Linked DNA regions of Homo sapiens: all the other regions are linked to region 1. Evidence: promoter capture Hi-C in 16 types of primary human blood cells and fetal thymus (Javierre and others, 2016). All regions are on one chromosome and are shown on one strand. The core of a region is centred on a gene start or on the middle of the fragment in contact, and the rest is flanking DNA. Distances in the headings are between cores, read along the strand shown.

The links. Contacts are between HindIII fragments. The CHiCAGO score rates a contact against its expected background, and 5 or more counts as called.
Region 2: a fragment that was not itself captured here is called in contact with the fragment with the promoter of KLF10 in region 1 in 1 of 17 cell types (neutrophils); the score reaches 5.4 in neutrophils.
Region 3: a contact is called between a fragment that was not itself captured here and the fragment with the promoter of KLF10 in region 1, in 2 of 17 cell types (M0 macrophages and monocytes). The highest score is 5.7, in M0 macrophages.
Region 4: a fragment that was not itself captured here is called in contact with the fragment with the promoter of KLF10 in region 1 in 1 of 17 cell types (neutrophils); the score reaches 6.7 in neutrophils.
Region 5: a contact is called between a fragment that was not itself captured here and the fragment with the promoter of KLF10 in region 1, in 1 of 17 cell types (M2 macrophages). The highest score is 6.1, in M2 macrophages.
Region 6: a fragment that was not itself captured here is called in contact with the fragment with the promoter of KLF10 in region 1 in 1 of 17 cell types (M2 macrophages); the score reaches 5.8 in M2 macrophages.

Annotation. Positions count from the first base shown.
Region 1 is chr8:102,654,096-102,657,141 of GRCh38, forward strand. KLF10 (KLF transcription factor 10) reads right to left here and starts at 1,630. Exons shown (of 4, transcript NM_005655.4): 1 at 1,471-1,630. The coding sequence starts at 1,506. LOC101927245 (a long non-coding RNA gene) reads left to right here and starts at 2,153. Exons shown (of 5, transcript NR_160672.1): 1 at 2,153-2,691. RefSeq lists silencers at 1-599, 1,500-2,519, enhancers at 1-366, 1,660-2,260, 2,861-3,046 and a promoter at 1,486-2,220. The HindIII fragment of the contact is 6,240 bases long and covers 1-3,046 here.
Region 2 is chr8:103,006,679-103,010,046 of GRCh38, forward strand. No RefSeq gene overlaps it. Among named protein-coding and RNA genes, the nearest start is that of ATP6V1C1, 13 kb to the right of the region's middle. The HindIII fragment of the contact is 2,336 bases long and covers 945-3,280 here.
Region 3 is chr8:102,361,353-102,364,727 of GRCh38, forward strand. It overlaps UBR5 (ubiquitin protein ligase E3 component n-recognin 5), which reads right to left. Exons shown (of 59, transcript NM_015902.6): 2 at 230-274. Among named protein-coding and RNA genes, the nearest start is that of UBR5, 50 kb to the right of the region's middle. The HindIII fragment of the contact is 1,453 bases long and covers 546-1,998 here.
Region 4 is chr8:102,964,911-102,967,891 of GRCh38, forward strand. The region is part of intron 2 of MAILR (macrophage interferon regulatory lncRNA); the gene reads left to right. Among named protein-coding and RNA genes, the nearest start is that of ATP6V1C1, 55 kb to the right of the region's middle. The HindIII fragment of the contact is 4,294 bases long and covers 1-2,981 here.
Region 5 is chr8:102,392,999-102,396,356 of GRCh38, forward strand. All of the region lies in intron 1 of UBR5 (ubiquitin protein ligase E3 component n-recognin 5), which reads right to left. Among named protein-coding and RNA genes, the nearest start is that of UBR5, 18 kb to the right of the region's middle. RefSeq lists an enhancer at 2,049-2,128. The HindIII fragment of the contact is 518 bases long and covers 1,666-2,183 here.
Region 6 is chr8:102,330,401-102,333,657 of GRCh38, forward strand. The region is part of intron 9 of UBR5 (ubiquitin protein ligase E3 component n-recognin 5); the gene reads right to left. Among named protein-coding and RNA genes, the nearest start is that of UBR5, 81 kb to the right of the region's middle. The HindIII fragment of the contact is 3,464 bases long and covers 1-3,159 here.

The DNA.
Region 1 (3,046 bases), core at 380-2,879:
GCGAGGAGGGGGCGAGGCATGTGAACAAAGCGTGATCAGCGGCTGCTCCGGGAGGCGCAGGAAACGTGAACTGGGAATTGCCGCGCCGTCACCTTTCCCCTACTTCCTGAGCTTGCGGGCCCCCGCCCGCGCCCGACCCGGGGGAGGGGCCGCGGGCGCCGCCGCCAACCGCCCGGCCGTGCGCGCCGGGCCCGCGGGGAGGGGCGGGGCTGCGGGCGCCAGGCTCCGGGAGGCGCCCGCCCCTTCCAGCTCCCCGCGAGCCGCCGTTCCCTTAGGAACCGACAGCGGGGCCGGGCCTCGCTCCCGCCCCTGGCGGAGGCCGGGGCTGGGTCACTCGGGGACGAGAAGCTCCCCGGGCGCACCCGCTCCCGGCCCACCCCCGGCCTCCGCCTCAGATGCGGGAGGAGGAGCCAGGTCCCCGCGGAAACCCGGCCGCCGCCCTCCTCCCGCCGGCAGCCCCCGGGAACCCGGCCGAGCCCTCGGCACTTCCCGCCCACGCGGCCCACGGGACCTCAGACCACCCCGTCTCTCCCTGTAGACGCGGCGCCCCCTCCCCGTGGCTTCCGGCAGCTCCAGGCCCCTCCCGCCGCGCGTCTCCACGGGTTCCCAGACGTGCAGCCCCCACAGGCCCCGGCTCCAGACGCGCGGCCCCCGCGTCTCGCGGCCCAGCTCCCCCCGCCCACCTTCCCGCCCCAGCTGCTGGGTCCCGCTTCCCACCCTCCTGCCCCAGAGGCGGCTCCCCGCCTCTTCCAAGGAGTCGTCAGAAGGCGGCCACCTGCCCCTGGGGTAAGAGTCCCCCTCCAGACGTCTGGGGGAGCAACTCGTCCCCCAGGGCTGTCGGCGGGCCCTCGTGTCATCCCCCCGCTCCGACGACAGGCGCCCCTTCCCCCAGCCCCGAGCTATCTGCTGAGCAGCCCCCGTCTTCCAAGCGTGGGTTCAGACCCCCAGGATGGGTAGCCCACTCGCCTCTCCTGTGGACACCCCGCCTCCCGAGTGCTTGCGAGCAGCCCCTTCCTCCCCTGGCTCGCGTTCCTGAGCCAGACCGGGCATCTCTCCTCGGTACCAGGTGAGGGTAGCCCCCTTGTCCCTCCCGCGACTCTCGTTCCACACTGTACCCCAACCTCGCTGCAGGGCAACGGCCCCCTCCCCACTCCTCCCCCGCTCGTCATCCTCCTCCTCACCAGCCCTCTCGGGTCTCCATGCGGAGTTGTCCCTTCCCCTCAGTACATCTAGAGCAAGACCCCTGTCCCTGTCTGAAGATCCCAGCCCCCTGGTTCGACCCCCTCCCGAACACACACGCCCTCACTAATGCCCATAGTCTGCAGGCAGGAAGCCCTTTCCTTCCCCACGACTCCGCTGCAGCCCCAATTCTCAGGCATGGCTGATGTCCGGGGCTCGGGGTTCGCGCCCCCTTTGGCCCCCCAGACAAGACCAGGCGAGGAAGCACAGGGGCATCCCCAAATGACTTACCGCAGTCTGCTGGAGAGAGGCACCGAAGTTGAGCATGGTTGGCTGCTTGGCCGCCGGCGGCAAGCTGACTGGCTGCTAGGCTGCTGGCTGCTTGGCCACAGACGGGCGCACGGAGACACTCGACGCCGCTCCCGCCGCCGCCGCGCTCAGCGCCGTCTGCCCCCTCCCCATTCAGGTAGCCGCTCAGCCTGCCCCGCGCCGCGGGCGGGGGTGGGGGCGGAGCCTGAGGCCGGCCAATCAACGGCAAAGGTGTGTGAGGCGCCGGCCAATGGGCTCGCGGGGCCACGCGTGATCGGCGACTGCCCGGCAGCGTGAAGCTGGTGTCAGTGGAGCGTGTACACAATCCCCGGCAGCGTGTTCCCTCTGCCCTGCCCCGGGGAACTCCAGAGGCCACCTGATTGAGTGACGCCCCCCGCCCCTCGCCCACCCCTCGCCCACTCCTTGCCCCTCGTCCCCCGCCCCTGCCTAGAGAGGCGGTGCCGCGGCCGGGGAGGCGCGGCGACTGCAGCGCGCCCAGGCACTGCGGAGGGCCAGCCCCACGTGGGGGGTGGGGAGGGATGCCCGCTCCGCCCCGTCCCCTCCGCGCCGGGCCTCGTCTCAGCCCGCCACGGAGTGGGCGGGACGCCAGGCAGGCGGGGGACGCGGCGGCTGCCAGCCAAGGGGCCGGAGCCAAGAGATTTGCATTGGAAGCGCCATCCTCTTGCGCGTCTGATGAGGAAGCAGAACCCGGTGACCGACTGAGCTGCATTTCTGAAGCATTTGCTGGGTTTTGCCTCACTAAGCCTCGGGGAGCACTGGGGCGCGGGATGGGGGACCCTGTCACGGAGCCGACACCTGCTCGCGCGCCTCTCCCCCGCTCACGCCGTGCCGCGGGCTCGCCCTCCCCATCTGCAGCGCCCGCAGCGCCTGCCCGCCCCGCCCATCCTTCCTCCTGGGCAACCCAGAGGATGGCGTGAGGACTCCTGGAAGCCCAGAGGACCGGACCAGGGGCGTGGTGGGGAGCCGTAGACCCGAGTTTTTATCCTTCTCTGGCGCCGACACTCGGCTGCGGAATCGAGTTTGAGCTCGGTGTAGCTGAAGTTTAAATTGTAGCTGTTTCAAAGGTAGACCCCACCTCACCCCCACCCCTGGACCAAGACCTCTGGAAGCGTCCTGCCTGGAAGCCGCTTGTGGGGAGGGCTCTCCTAGGGTCTCCAGGCTCCCGCTGGAGCACGCCTGGAGGTGGGTTTGCCGGCCGTTCCCTGAAACTGGCACCACTACCGCCCCACCCACCCACTCCAGCTGGTGGGAGGCAGGCTGGGTTTCTGAAAGGAAGCCGCCCGTGTGCTGCGCCTGGGGGCTGGGGCTAGGCCTTCTGATCAGGAAAGCCCATGGCCCTGCTTTGGCACGGATTTGCCCCCGTTTGGCCGTTTGTGCGTGATCACAGCAGCTGTTGTTGGAGAGGAAGGCAGTGATAACGGGGCTTAAAGCAAATCGGAGATCTTATCCGATTTGGACAGGCTGAATTTAAGGCAAAAATCACTGTCTCTCCTTCGAGCACTCACGTCTCTGTAACTGAATGAAAGGCTGGTAATGC
Region 2 (3,368 bases), core at 863-3,362, 350 kb after region 1:
TTCTGCTGACTCACCCCCAACCTGAAGTTATCTAAGAGCCCCAGCCACCAGTCATCTCATTGGCATAAACTCAGGTATGATTAAAAGGAGCTTATTATGAATGATGAAGATGCTCTTCTTATACCTATCCTTCAGGAATTTACAAGGGTTTTAAGAGCTCAATGCCAGGAACCAGAGATGAAGACCAAATATGTATTTCTTAGTGTATCATCATATCACAAAGTGTTCTAGGGTCTTAGAGAAAGAGGGTAGCTCTGTGGAGTCAAGATTGTAGGTCTTGGATTGATAACTTTACTCAAAACCTCACAAATAAATCTTAATCATGGTCAGTAGCAACATCCTTGAAGATGGCAATTCTATCATTTTATTTTTCACATCATTGTCAGCATCATCTGGAACCGATATTTACTGACCCTCAGTTGGGTGCAAATACAGAAACACAGTCTTGGCCAGGTGCTGTGGCTCATTTCTGTAATCTTAGCACTTTGGGAGGCCAAGGCAAGAAGATTACTTGAGCGCAGGAGTTCAAGACCAGCCTGGGCAATATAGTGAGATCTCATCTCTACAACAAATTTACAAATTAACTGGGCATAGTGGTGAGCACCTGTAGTCCCAGCTACTCAGGAGGCTGAGGTGGGAGGATCACTTGAGTCTTGGGGGAGGAGGTTGCAGTGAGCTGAGATCATGCCACTGCACTCCAGCCTGAGCAACAGAGCGAGACCCTGTCTCAAAAAAAAAAAAAAAAAAAGGAGGGGGGTAATTAAGGACTCACTTTTTTTTCCATTTCTCCAGTGGAAGCCATCCCCAGTGGAAGCTTCATTCTCAGGGAGGTAGCAAGATGGCTGTAGCACTTCCAGATCGCAACAGAAGCATGACTATTTTGAGGAAAAAGAGAGACCACCTCGTCCTGTAGGTCTCTCCTAAGAGCAAGAGAACTTCATGGAAGCTTTCCAGCACATTTCCCCTCATGCCTCATCTGCCAGAATTAGGTCACATGCAAATACCTGAAGCAATCATTTAGAACCATTCCTGACAGTTTCCTCCAACATACTTGGCTAAACAGATGGGTCCCTGAACAAAACTGTGGTTCTGTTAGGAAGCAAAAAGAGGGAATTGGACTCTGGGTGGGACCCTGGGTGGAGGGTACATTGCTTATCAGTTTCTAGGACTACAAAGACATGTTTACTTAGGATCCCTATTTGAAAGAGGCTTTTAATCTAGTTGTGGGTAGACACACCAAAAAATGACAAAAGAATGTTTAGTAAGGTTCTAAACACACAGTAGGCACCTAAAAATATTCACTGAATGAATGAACACATACTAATATTACACCTTGGGTGCTAAGTGAATAACACAGCTATGCCACAGAGGCTCAGAAGAATGACTGCTCAAGAAGTTCTAGTGCAATGATTCATCAAATTTCACGAGGTCTTGTGACAATGCAGATACCCAGGCCACAACCTCCAAAACTTGGATTCAGTGTTTTCATGGACTGCAGATTTAACAAGAATTTCAGTACAACCTCCATTAGTGTTAGGGAAGGTAGCTGCAGCGTGTGGTTAGGGTAAATAGGTATTGTTTCCCCACTCCCAAAATCATTTAATAAATCATCAAATTAAAGACCTACGAGTTTACCTTCTGATATTTGTAAAGTGATTGCTAAGATCCAAAAAATAGTGTTTGGCTGGGTGCGGTGGCTCACGCCTGTAATCCCAGCACTTTGGAAGGCTGAGGCGGGCAGATCACAAGGTCAGGAGCTCGAGACCAGCCTGACCAACATGGTGAAACCCCGTCTCTACTAAAAATATAAAAATTAGCTGGGCGTGGTGGTGCGCACCTGTAATCCCAGCTACTCAGGAGGCTGAAGTAGGAGAATCGCTTGAACCCGGGAGGGGGAGGTTGCAGTGAGCTGAGATCATGCCACTGCACTCCAGCCTGGGTGACACAGAGAGACTCTATCTCAAAAAAAAAAAAAAAAAGTGTTTAATAGTTCTTTTTTTTTTTTCTTTTTTGAGATGGAGTCTCACTCTGTCGCCCAAGCTGGAGTTCAGTGGCTCAATCTCGGCTCACTGCAACCTCCGTCTCCTGGGTTCAAGTGATTCTCCCACCTCAGCCTCTTGAGTAGCTGGGATTACTGGTGCCCGCTACCATGCCCAGCTAATTGTTGTATTTTTAGTAGAGACGAGATTTCACTGTGTTGGCCAGGCTGGTCTTGAACTCCTGACTTCAGGTGATCCACCTGCCTTGGCCTCCCAAAGTGTTGGGATTACATAGGTGAGCCACCACGTCCAGCCTGTATTTAGTAGTTCTTATCAAAGAACCATATGTACAAAGGATTGTACAACTTTTCCCTTCTGGGCCTAAATAGTTATTGACTGATGAAAAGGTGAATTATATCTGAATAATGAAACAATATTTTCAGGTTTGAAGGTATTTGCTTTATTTTAGAATACAATCCCTTAAAATTATCAAGTTGCTCTTTGATAACAAATGGAAAACATTTTCTCATATTTATTGTTCCCTAACACCAATTTATTCCATTGGATTTCTTCATAGTTTATAGTACCCAGCAACCTTATAGCTGTAGAGAGAGACTATTCTTTCCTCCTGGATTGCCAAATTTTTGTTTATTGACAGAAAACTGGCCAGGCACAGTGGCTCACCCTCCTTTTTACACTGTCTTGCTTCTGGTGAAGTTTCCCATAGATATGCCACTGGCATTCTCCAATTAACCCAGCTGACAAAGACTGGGACCAAGTCTGTTTAATTTGTCAAATATGGCCTTATTAAGGTGACTATAAACAAGAATCCACAAAGCAGGAGGAAGCTATTTGTGGCACTGACCTCAAATATGCCTGTCAGAGTCTCAGAATCAACTCCTTGAACAAATTCAAGAAGCCACCAAGGCTTCATTTAAGAAGAGTCAGGGAGTGGGATCTTTCCTTAAGTTTCTGTACTGACCTTTTCCCTCAGTCCAAGACATTAATGTAGGCATGACAGAATGTATTAATAATTGTACAGACCCCTCCGCCTTGACCCACAAGGAAGAAGTTTAAAGCAATTGTATTACGTATAACACACCTGGCTACTCAGTTGAGGCAAATGCGAATACTTCAAGGGCAAAGCTGGTATCACTGATCACTTCAGCTAAAGTCAGGGGCAAATTTTGTTCTGCTTCTTCTAATGGGATGACTTCCACTGCAGCAACAAGTGGCCACTGATAGTGGATAAATAACAAGCCTGTTATCACTTTGGGGAGTTCCTCCAGGTAATCAAAGGAAGCTTCATTTTGGAGAAATCTCCACAATCATCTGAGGGCTATGTGAGCTACTAGTGGTGTACACTTGAAGGTTTTTTATGATGACTTA
Region 3 (3,375 bases), core at 22-2,521, 290 kb before region 1:
TATCTCCATAATCATTTATATCTCCCTGTATGCCAGATTTAAAAAAAAAAAAGCATGAATGCAATCTATAATTCAAATAAGCCCAACCCATAAAAAGTTGACAGATTAAAAGATTCTTAAAGTCTAATAATCACATTAATCTTAATCATATCAGGCTGCCGCCTAAATGAGTTTTTTCTTAATAAAGAAAAATTGTTGTCAGAAGATTTAAATATTTTAAAACTCTTACCTGTTTAAATTATATTTGTTCAGCTTCTCAGAAACTTCTCGTAACCTTTAAAACAAAACATTAACAAACCACGTGTACAGATCTTTTGTAAACAAATACTTCTGACAGGTACTTGTACCATTATTTTGGTAATTTCCAATAGTAGTACACAAAACAACTGCTATGGTAAGAATGTTTTTCATATTTTCATTTTTGTCCCGAAAAGATCACAAGCAGACTCTGCAATTCCGTTCCCTCACCACCCCATTTGCAACCTCAGTAACAATGATAATCGTATTAATCCCATTTTCCCATTAATCCCAGGTGAGAAAACTGAAGCTTCTAGAGTTTATAGAAAAGGTAGCATAAAGTTGGTAGCTGAACCAATGCCCAACCAAAGGCTCAATTGTTTAAAAAAACAAAACAAAACAAAAAACTGTGTTATCCATGTCAAGAGATTCTTGAGTGCACATGGATATCATGAAATGAAAACAGAAAGCCTAATTGACTTAAGGTATCATCTCAAGTTCTTGAACGGTCTTATAGCACAAAATTGAACAAACCAGATCATCAATGTCCTTATCTATATAAAGTAAGGATAACACCTCCCATTTCTAACAGCATTTAAAACAGTACTGAACAGATTTAGAAAAACCCCAAAGGGCTACATAACAAAGAGATATTAACTTGTATTTTCTGTTATGATTTTGTTGTTTCTCTTAAGAAAACAGTCTTGAATGTAAAACACTATAATAGCTAAATTAAACTAGGTATTTTGTCAACCTAAGAAAGTCATTTTACAATGTAAAGATATAATCAAATGCAGAGATTTTAAGCAATTCTATTAAGTTATCAAAAAAAACACTGCCTGATCTGATCTTTTAAAACCGTTTTCCAGAAATAATTCTTGTAAAAGTAAACTGAGAATTTTAGAAAGCAATGGGAAAAATCAGAACATTAAATCAATAGAAAAGTCCATGAATTCTGCTCTCTAAAGAGTCACAAAAATGAATAAAATCAAATTTCAATCATTTGTACTAACAGACAAAAATGTTATACATACTCCAAAAATAAATGACGTTAAAGCCAGTTTAGGGCTTAAAAACTGCCACAAAGCATATATAATCTAACTTAATTATTTCAGTAAGAGAAAATAACCTAATTATTTCAGTAAGAGATTCAATTAGGAGTCAGCTGTTCTATAACTTTATCCTATAAGTTCTATCATCCTAGTGAACAGCATCTTTCAAAGGCGTACAGTAACTGTCTAATATTGAATTGCATTCAGTAACTGAAATAACTTTTTTTTTTTTTTGAGTCTCGATCTGTTGCCCCAGCTGGAGTGCAATGGTGCGATCTCGGCTCACTACAACCTCCATCTCCTGGGTTCAAGTGATTCTCGTGCCTCAGCCTCCCGAGTAGCTGGAATTACAGGTACCCGCCACCACACCCGGCTAATTTTTGTAATTCAGTATAGATGGGGTTTCGCCATTTGGGCCAGGCTGGTCTCAAACTCCTGACCTCAATAGATCCACTTGCCTTGGCCTCCCAAAGCGCTGGGATTACAGGCGTGAGCCATGACGCCCAGCCTGAAGTAACTTTCAAATGCGGCCATATTTTATTTCTCTCTGAAGAAGTAGATACTTACTGGTGACCTTATTCTCACTCCTAAAGAACAGCATCTGATCATTTGTGATTTGGCCCCCAGAAAAATACATTTTCATTTTTGTAGCCCAGTTTTGCATTTACTTCCATTAACAAAACATGTTTTCATTAGTTCAAGAAAGTTAAGCTTTTTCAAAGAATTCCAGTTTGCCCATTTACAAAGCACACTTCTGTGTTCCAAGATAAAACACCTTAAGGGTAATGTATTGTGGAACCCATGAGCTCTAAGAGAAGGCTGACTAGAAAATAGGGAGAAGATAAACAAGGGTGGGTCTGCTCTGCAGAGTAACAGCAGCCTTTAGAAGACCCCAAGAAGCAGCAGGAGCTCTCACTTCCCCGGGTCCACATTTACTATGAGTAACCACAGTAGTGACACTTTCAGAAGATAACTTGTTCACTGGCATGCAACTAAACTCATTCATTTCCATTCCTTTGTTAGTAGCTCAAAACTTGTCTCCAGAGCTCTCGCAAAATATATAGCATTGGGAGAGAAAAATAATTGTCAAGGCCTTTTTCAAAACCGGACAATGCCTGAGATTAAGAATTAAATGTTGTTTCCACGTCTCCAAATATTCCAGACAATTATTTGTAAAACTAAAGTAAGCTTCGAGGATATGAGAATGCTAAAAAATATTTAAACTCAAGAACTCAACAGCGAATTTCAGGCTATCTGGGGAGATAGCACAAATGGTTACTGCTATCAATTAAATTTTCTAATCTTAAAAGTCCTGGTGAGACCCCTAACCACATCTGAAATACATGTCTGAAATGCACATCAATTTGTACTGGAAACAATGCCACCGAATAGCAAGAAATCCGGGGTTTACTCCCAGCTCATCTACTACTACCTGGACTCACTAAAAGTCCACTAGGTCTCAAGTTCTCATCTATGTGAGGAAGAACTCTTTTAGTCATCTCCGGTTCTGAAAATTCTTATTCCTGAAATTCTTATTTTTTGTTTTTTTGCCTCTTTTGAGACTGGGTCTCACTCTGTCGCCCAGGCTGGAGTGCAGTGGTCCAATCGTGGCTCACTACCACCTCAATCCCCCAGGCTCAATCTATCTTCCCGCCTTAGCCTCCTGAGTAAACAGAACTACAGGTGCGCACCATCTCACCCAGCTAATTTTTGTATTTTTTGTAGAGACAGCGTTTTAGCACGTTGCCCAGGCTTGTCTTAAACTCCTGGGCTCAACGGATCTACTTGTCTTGGCCTCCCAAAGTGCTGGGATTACAGGCATGGGACATAGTGCCCAGCCTCAGTCCTGAAATGCTTATGAATATATGAAAAGCAAGTGTATCAATGGAAGATATATACGTAATGTTTACAATGAAATAGCACTATCATATTCAATTTTTATCGTACCCATTTGAAACTTTCAAATGGATTTTATACAGACATTTAGATTGCTTCCCCAAATATCAAATTTTAAAAAACTCTTAAATTCAGTCCACAGATTTACACAAAATGTATCATCCTTTCAAATCTCAAGAGAGTTATGACT
Region 4 (2,981 bases), core at 138-2,637, 310 kb after region 1:
GGACTAGGTGGCCACTCTTTTAAACCTATGAAGTAGGTGAGGTACTTAACATAGTACTGGTCCTGAAATCTGGAATTTACGTATTTATTTATTTATTTATTTTTGAGGCGGAATCTCCCTCTGTCACCCAGGCTGAAGTGCAGTGGCACAATCTTGGCTCACTGCAGCCTCCGCCTCCCGGGTTCAAGTGATTCTCCTGCTTCAGCCTCCTGAGTAGATGGGACTACAGGCATGCACCACCATGCCTGGCTAATTTTTGTATTTTTAGTAGAGACGGGGTTTCACCATGTTGGCCAGGCTTGTCTTGAACTCCTGGCCTCAGGTGATCCACCTGCCTCAGCCTCCCAAAGTGCTGGTATTACAGGTGTGAGCCACTGCGCCTGGCCTGGAATTTATAAAGGTAGTTGCCTCCTCCTTGTTGTTCTTCTCCTTCATCTCCCTCACCCTCCTTGTTGTTCATCATCATCATCATCATTGAATCCTGGTGTAGAGCAGGGCTAGGCAAAGCTAAGAAACCATTCAACTGACTTAAAGCTGTTTTGGGAAGCGTATAATTGTCCTTGTTTCACCTTCTCACTTTTCCTTAAATGTATTAAAGCATCAAAACATTATGAAAAAAGCTGTTTTCTGTTGTTTGGGATGCTTTGTAAATATGACTCTTTCACCCTCACCTCAGACAGTATTAATTTAACCTGATTTGAATAGATGCTGTGAAATGATTGGCTGAAAGGTCCTTCCATGTAATTTATTCAAGTCAACATCACCAAAAGTTAAGGTAGAGATAAAAAACTGTGTCGCCCTCATCCTTAAGAAAGCAATAGCAGATACAGAAGCAACAGTAGAGTATGTCTGCTGTATTCTGAACCTCCTGCTGCACTAATACATTTCTGCAGCAACAGTAAAATACTCTGATCTTACTGCTTATTGGCCAAAGAGTTGCAGCAATAAGATGAGAATAGAGATGATTATGGGCTGCAGAGGGGGTTTCCTGGAAGAGAGGAGACCTGGAGGACAGGTGGAATGGAGTACTGAGGCTGTCTTGAGAGAAGAAAGTAACTGGGGTAAACGGTGAGGGCAGCATTTCCCAATCTGTGTTTTGCAAAACAGCATTTGCCAAAAATAGTTCCAAGGCCAAAGAAGTTTGGGAAATACTGTGTATACCCATCATAAATTAGACTGTTACAGACTCTGAGGAGATCTGAAGTGAAGAAACTTGTTTAACTTTGTTTAACCTAAGTTTCCCTAATGTACAGGATCATGGAATCTGCTTTTTGGTAACACGCGTTAGCATCTTTCAGAATGTTCATGCTCTATGACTGGAACACTGCTGGGAAGCACTAATTTATGATTTTTTTTTTTGAGACAAGGTCTCGCTCTGTCACTCAGGCTGGAGTGTGGTGGTGCCATCACGGCTCACTGAAGCCTTGACTTTGCAGGCTCAGGTGATCCTCCCACCTCAGCCTCCCGAGTAGCTGGGACTAGAGACATGCCACCACGCCTGGCTAATTTTTGTATTTTTTGTAGAGACAATTTTAACCATGTTGTCCAGGCTTATTTGTGCAGTTTTTGAGACTTCAAAAGAGTTAATCATACTACTCAGTTCATGCTACCTTATCATCACATTTTTGGGAAGGTTTCTCTTATTTTATTTTATTTTACCCCTAACCCCTACCCCTGACCATAAGTTACTACTTTCACATTTTCATATATTTTCTTAAATATGCCTTTGTCTTATAAAGTGTATTGTGTTAGTGTATGTGCTATAAATGTTGTTTTTTGCTATTTTTTCTCAGTACTATATTTTAAAGAACTAAAATTATTGCCGTGCATGCATTTCATTTGTTGTTTTTATCACTGCACAAGACTCCATAGTATGCAATCCACCCATTTTATTCATCCTTTCCTCCACTACTGGAAACCGAGGTTGATAGCAAATAGTCACATGTACTAGATAATCATTTGAATATTTTACCTCTAGCCAATAAATAATAAACCTGGCCAATTGTGGCAAGCTGACCTGATCAAGTCCTAGCAGTGATGAAGAGTGAATTTCAGAAGAAGCAGCCTTCGGATAATTTGCTAGAGCAGAAGCTGAAAATCACTTAGCTCAACCCAAATCTGCCTCTGAAACTGTCATCTTTACGCAGTTTTCAAAATTGTGCTCTTGACATTAAAGTATGACTGTTAAAACATTTTCTTTAAAATGCAGAAAGGAATAGAAATGATTTATTATTGACCTATGGCAAGTGGCCTTGAGCTAAGACTCAGGCAGTCTGTCCAGTTGAGCAGGTCAGGGAAGGAGGTGGGATGGAAATAAGGCCAGATGAGTCTCCTGAGAGGCTCCTAAGGAGACAGGTTGACTTTCTCTCAGTTACCCACCCCCAGGACCATATACTTCCTGTTTGTAGGGCTAACCAAAGTATTTAATGCTAGGAATCTCAGACTTCAGGTAGTAACTAGGGAAGAGAATTATGTCAATTTGGGGGAGTCAAGAGGAATGCCAAACTCAGAGGAAACAGCTAATGATGTTGAGCAGGAAGTTTCATAGAGTCCAAGAACTTCTGAGCAAAGAGGAGACTCCTCCAGGTAATGAAAGTACCTGGAACTTGTTCTCAACTTGGAAGTTCTTCACTTCCTTAAGAGTGTGTGATTGTGAAAACCCTCCTAATACTATCCTGCGCTTCAGGTGGACGGTGGTGAGCTGTGTTTCCAGGCAAAGGGGAGGACAGGACGCCTTGTGGCAGCCCAAGCTGTGAAAAATAGGTATTGAAAAAGAAGACATTTTTTACTTTTTCTTTCTTTCTTTTTTTTGAGACAGCATCTTGCTTTGTCGCCCAGGCTAGAATGCAATGGCACGATCATGGCTCACTGCAGCCATAACTTCCTGAGCTCAAGCGATCCTCCCATTTCAGCCTCCTGAGTAGCTTGGACTACAGGCCTGTGCCACCACACCATGCTAATTTTTTCTATTTTTCGTAGAG
Region 5 (3,358 bases), core at 675-3,174, 260 kb before region 1:
TCAAATAGATAAAATGTATGAAGATTAAACGCTACATATTTCAAAAGTGTTTCATGCAACATCTTGTCACTAGAATGTGAACTCCACAGGGGCAGACATTTTTGCCTGTTTTCCTGACTGATGTAGTCCAAGTGTCTGGCCCAAAACAAGCCCTCAGTAAATTATTTGTTGACTAACAATGAATGAATGAAACTTTAAGTCAATTTTTTTTAAATGACTTATGGGAATCTTCATTTATATTTAAGTTATGATGAAAATTCTGGTCAATTTACTAGGGGAAAAAAAGGGCTTAAATTTTACTCCAATTTTTTTACAAGTTGTCTTCTCCCAAAGTTAATTCTGAATGTAAAAACGGAAACAACAGGCGGTGGTTCACACTAGTAATCCCAGCACTTTGGGAGGCCAAGATGGGCGGATCACGAGGTCAAGAGTTCGAGACCAGCGTGGCCAACATGGTGAAACCCCGTCTCTACTAAAAATACAAAAAATTAGCCACGCATGGTAGCACACGCCAGTAGTCCCAGCTACTCAGGAGGCTGAGGCAGGAGAATCGCTTGAACCTGGGAGGTGGAGGTTGCAATGAGCTGAGATCACGCCACTGCACCCCAGTCAGGGGGACAGAGCAAAGTTTCTTTTAAGAAGTTTCTAGAGCCAGGCATGGTGGCTCATGCCTGTAATCCCAGCACTTTGAGAGGCTGAGGAAGGCGGATCACTTGAGGCCAGGAGTTCGAGACCAGCCTGGCCAGCATGGTGAAACTCCATCTCTACTAAAAACACAAAAATTAGCCGAGCATGGTGGCACACGCCTGGAGTCCCAGCTGCTCTGGAGGCTGAGGCACAAGAATTGCTTGAACCAGGGAGACGGTGGTTGCAGTGAGCCAAGATCCTGCCACTGCACTCCAGCCTGGGCAACAGAGCAAGACTCTGTCTTAAAAAATAACAATAAAAAGTTTCTAGAGGAAAAAATATTTTAGGTGAAACTAAATTACTATTCTTTATTCAATGATTTTCACGTTCTTATTTTAGGTGAATAGTTAAATAAGCTAAAACACTTTCCTAGAAATTTATTCTTTTTCTTTTTCTTGAGACGGACTCTCGCCCTCGCCCAGGCTGGAGTGCAGTGGCACAGTCGGCTCACTGCAACCTCTGCCTCCCGGGTTCAAGCCATTCTCCTGCCTCAGCTTCCTGAGTAGCTGGGATTACATTCGCACACCACCACGCCCAGCTAATTTTTGTATTTTTAGTAGAGACAGGGTTTCACCATTTTGGTCAGGCTGGTCTCTTAACTCCTGACCTCATCATCTGTCCGCCTTGGCCTCCCAAAGTGCTGGGGTTACAGGCGCGAGCCACCGCATCCGGCCAGAATTTATTCTTTTTCTATTATTAAAATAATATATACTCATATACAGAAGTATATAAAATACAAAATCATATCAAGAAATATCAAAAGTAATCAACCATAACCCAGAGGCAAGTATACCGTCATTTTGTTTTAGCACTTATGAAACTTTAGTCTTTACCACAGTTAATATCATAGACTTTTTCACCTCTTAGATAGAAAAACACATTGTCTTTTATTCAGCTCCGTGATTCTACTGGTTTCTCCAAAAGATCTGCAGTTTTTTCCCAATAACAGTGAGGCATTTGAACTGAATCATCCATTCAAGCTTGATCATCCTCATTAACAATGGCAAACACCAACAACTTGGCTGGAGAGAGGTGAAGTACATTCTTTGTAGCCACAAAATCAAGCAACTTGCCTACATGGAAAATGGAATTCACACTCCTTAGTGCATTGGTTCCATTACTCTAAGCCTAACCAACTACATTAACCAGTTATGGCCAATTTATGGCCTAGCACATCTTATTTACTTGATCATGATATGACCAAAGTCATTATTGAAGATAATTAACAAGGTATCCTTTTCTACAAGAACATTATTCAACTGATTTGAAACTCTATGTATTCATCAGTCTAAGCATTCTGGGCTTCTTTTAGTTCCTCAAATACACAGCAGTCTCTCACGGTCTCCACATGTGCTGTTCCTTCTGCCTAGGGAGCTCTTCCAGTTCTTAACACCTTGTCCTACGTCCTACATCCTACAGCTCTCCCACCAGCCTCTCTCAGCCTACCTCCTTTTCATTCACAATCCCTATTCTCATTTTCAACACTTCTTCAGGTAAGCTTTTCCCCTGCCCAAGACTGAACTGGTGCTTCTAGTGAAGAATCCTGAACTTTCCCTTTTCACTGTACTTGTCACACTGTCCTGTAACTGTCTCTTTTTCATGAACCAAACACCACCACCAGACACCCAAGACTAGAACTGACAGGCAGCAGACGCCCCCAAATCTTGCTGAATAAACACTCTTTTAATGATTTCACATATATCTATTTATATATATACACACACACACACGTACCTGTTTACATATACACAAACACAGTGTATTCATATTTATAATTACATATATACACAAACATACATACACACAAACAGTGTGTGTTCACATTAATATATAATTACATACACACACACATAGAAAAACAAGTAACTTCCTCTACCCTTTTCAAAGGAAAAGCAATAAGGCTAAGTTAATGTAGGGTGGAGTCTTTGCCACTTAACTAATCTAAGCACTCCGGCCCTCAGTTTCCTCAGCTATAAAATAAAATCCTAAAATCGTCCTTGGTGTAAAGTTTTGATGAAACATCTCAAAACATTCTATTCAGCAGTGTCAAGTCACAAGGTAATATCTATTACAGTCTAATACACAGAACAATGGGTTTCCTGGAAAACAGAAGTTAAAAAGTTTCTCATTGAGCATGTGGCAGTACTAGGACCTAATAAACAGCATTTCCAAAAAACAAGAGCAACACTCTTAATCCATTAGAAATCAAAGGTAAACAAACATTTTCAAACTCAGAAGGTGATATGCCATCATCAATGTGCTTTTGCTTTATCATATACTTGATAAAGCTGCACTCCTGCCTGAGTGACAGAGTGAGACTCCATGTCAAAAATAAAATCAAATAAAGGGGGAAGGGGTGGGGGAGCAATACAGAAGACCTGGGCATGTTTTTTAAGAGCTCCTCTTCAGTTAAACTAACCAGACGGCAAGAGCTTAGAAAGCTCTATTTTCTGCCCACTACTCCTAAATACCTATTAGAGTAAGTACAAAAAAAGCAGAAGAGCAGGTCTGAGGCAGGAAATAAGAATCAAACCTTAAAATGGCAGAACTGGCCAACATATATCAAATGTAACTCATAAAACAGTATCTATAGCTCTACAGTCACACAGATTCAAGGCTGAAATGAACTTTCAGACATTAAATACACCTCCTCATCTTACAAATGAGTAAA
Region 6 (3,257 bases), core at 178-2,677, 320 kb before region 1:
GTTATGCCTTAGTGTTGTACAGAAATAATACTAATTTTAATCGTCTATTTTACCTGTACCAGTCAAACCTATTTTCCTATTTTCAAGTCACTTTTATTGGGGGATGGAAAAGAGACCAAATTTGGAATTCTCCAAGTTAGCAATTCTTCCCTTACCTTTACCATGGATGTCTACAAACCATTACTGACTTTCTCCATAGAAACTGCATCAAATTTTACCTTTCTACTTCATATTCTCTTCTCAATCCTACGGTTAAGAATTAACTATAATGGAATCAGACTAAGTGAGTCCCCAACCTAGATCCAACACTTATTAAGTATGTGACTTCAGGTAAACTATACAATTTCTCTGAAACCATTTCTTCATTTCTAAAATGGGTATTAAGGTAATGCAAATCATGGTAAGGGAGAGGGGAGTGCAGGGTAAAAACCAAACGGAGTAACATATATAGCTGACCCTTGAACAATATGGGTTTGAACTGTTAGGGTCTGCTTATAGTTCTCTTCAGCCTCTGCCATCCTTGAGACAGCAAAAGCAACTCCTCCTCTTCTAATTCTTCCTTCCCCTCCTCAGCCTATTCAACATGAAGATAATGAGAATAAAGACCTTAATGGTAATCCGCTTCCACTTAATGAATACTAAATGTATGTTCTTTTCCTTATGATTTTCTTAATAACATTTTCTCTAATTTACTTTATTGTATAAATACAGTATATACTACATATAACATACAAAATATGTTGTTAATCAACTTTATGTTGTTGCTAAGGCTCCCAGTGAACAGGAGGCTATAATAAGTTTTGGGGGAGTCAAAGTTATGTGGATTTTCAACTGCATGAGGAGTGGGTGCCCCTAACCCCTTCATAGTTCAAGGGTCAGCTGGATAAAGTACACAGCACAGAGCCCAGTGCAAATAAGCACTCAATCAAATTCGACTATGACTAATCTCCTCCCCTGACTTCATCTCTGACTCACCCAGAAAATGATAGCTCTCAGGCAGGGGCTTCCTCAATATTCCTAGCTCTAGATTTGCTTAATGAAAGCACCATTCTCACCTCCTCCCTTCTCCCCATCTCAGAGAAAGAAGTGTTTTCCTCCCCTCCTATTTAAAGATAACCCACAGACACACTGGATGCAACTCCTTCCCATATCCCCCAACAACCATCCAAACAAATCTCTCCTTCAGTCCTAACATGGTAAAGTGAATTACTGCCTGGCATATGTTTCACCTTACCAGTTTTCAGTGATGGACATGACATTTTTTCCAACTGCCAAATCAATGCTCAATGTACGTAATCAGTCCATCTTCTCTTTAAACTCTTCAAATGATTTGCCTCTGTTCATTATCTGTTCTGGAACCCATCCTTCTCTCCCTAATTCATAGGTCACCATTCTCTACTGGTCTTCCACCTACCTTCCATCTCCCTGGCACTACCATGCATGGTCTTCCCTCCATCTCCCTGGTACTACCATGCACTCCCTGCCACTGATTCTGTGTTTCTCCCTGTATTCAAATTGTGCTTCACCTTCAGCCTCAGTGACTTCATCTACCAGAGCATCATGCTTTTAAATGTGTAAATCTCATATCTCCAGACTTACCTACAGCTGTCTTAAAAAGCACAATGACATCCCTAAAATGAATCCGCCATCTCCTGCAAAGCTGTGCCTTCCCTGTAGTTCCTATCTCTATGAATGACATCACCACCCACCTGGTAATGGGAGACACGACAATCGAATTGACTGATGAGAGAAAAGGAAGAGATGAGGCGTGCTCCCAGGTTCCCATGTCTAAACTGATCTCAAATTCCTCTCAGATTCTTCTCTTTCTCTCTCCCCATACCCCTGCTTTGGTTGAGATCCTCACAATTTCCTTGAACAACTGTAGCATTCTCATAACCGACTTTTGATTTTTCCTGTTGCTTTCTCCCATCATGCCAGTAATGTTCACCTCCTTAAAACAAATCAAATACAACAAAGCAAAACCCCACCAATCACATCAAGTCACTTCTCTACGGACTCTGTTGACTTCTTAATTGCTGCAAAACAATATCCTAACTTCTTGCTTGGCAAACTGTCTAGTCATCTCCATCCCATCTCTTCTCCTACTCCCCACCACAAAGCAGCAATTCTGAATTTTTCATGGTTCCTCAAACACATCATGACCTTTTGTGACTCTGGGCCCATGCCCAGATACGTTTGGAATACCTTTGTGCCTTGGTCAATGCCCACCTCACCTTAAAAATGCTGCTTAAATGCTATCTCCTCTGCGATGCCTTTGCCAGATCTCTCAGGTGGTATTGGTCATTTACCACTCAGAACCCCTATAGCACTTTACTCATACTTTCAGCCTAGCACTGATCACATTATGATCACATTACATTCTATGTAAATGTTTGTGTTCCCCACTGAATTCCTTGTAGAAAGGCCAATATCATACTCATGACTATATTACCATATGCCAGCTTGGTATATGGCACAAAGCAGGAACACACTGACCAACTGTTGAATGAACAAATGAATCTTAACTCCAGCTTCTTTGGGTAAATGCCTTACTAGAGCAGTACAATCCTGAACAAACCAGCCCAATAGCAAGAGCATGGTGCATGAGGCCCTCTCAGAACTGACTTGCCTTTATCTTTCAGAGATAGGGCAATGTCCCCCACGGTGATAAGGCCTGGATGAGCCAATTACACCCCTACAGGCCCTGAAAACCCACTATGGACAAATGAAGATGAATAGCACAACTATGAACCCACAGGAAGAGGACAAAAAAATCACCTACTACTTCTTGCCTGCTTCAGATTTATCTGTATTAAAGAAATTTACTGTATGTAAATACAAAACAATCAAATACATACACAAGGACAGTATTTTAGCTCATTCATTTCATAAGTCATAGAAAACAATGTTTTTATTGTTTTTATGAAGTACGAATTGCTGCTTCTTAGCAAGCTGACATCTGCTCAATCCAACTAGAGAAAGTGGCTATGCATGTTTCCTTAAAGAGCAGTAGTTTGTAGCTCTATTTTTCAACAAAAAGAAGTTGAATCAGTAAATCTGCAACTGTCCAACATAAATGGGTCATAAATTTAACTAGAAATCCTTCCTCAAAGGGGGAAGGAAAACTGTTAAAAATATGAGACATGAAATAGCGGCCAAAGCTTTAAAAAACACTTGGCCCAGCAACACCAACTCTATTAACTGGCCACACCTATGTTTACTAATTCATATTGTGAAAAAGTTGGCATCTCTATTCC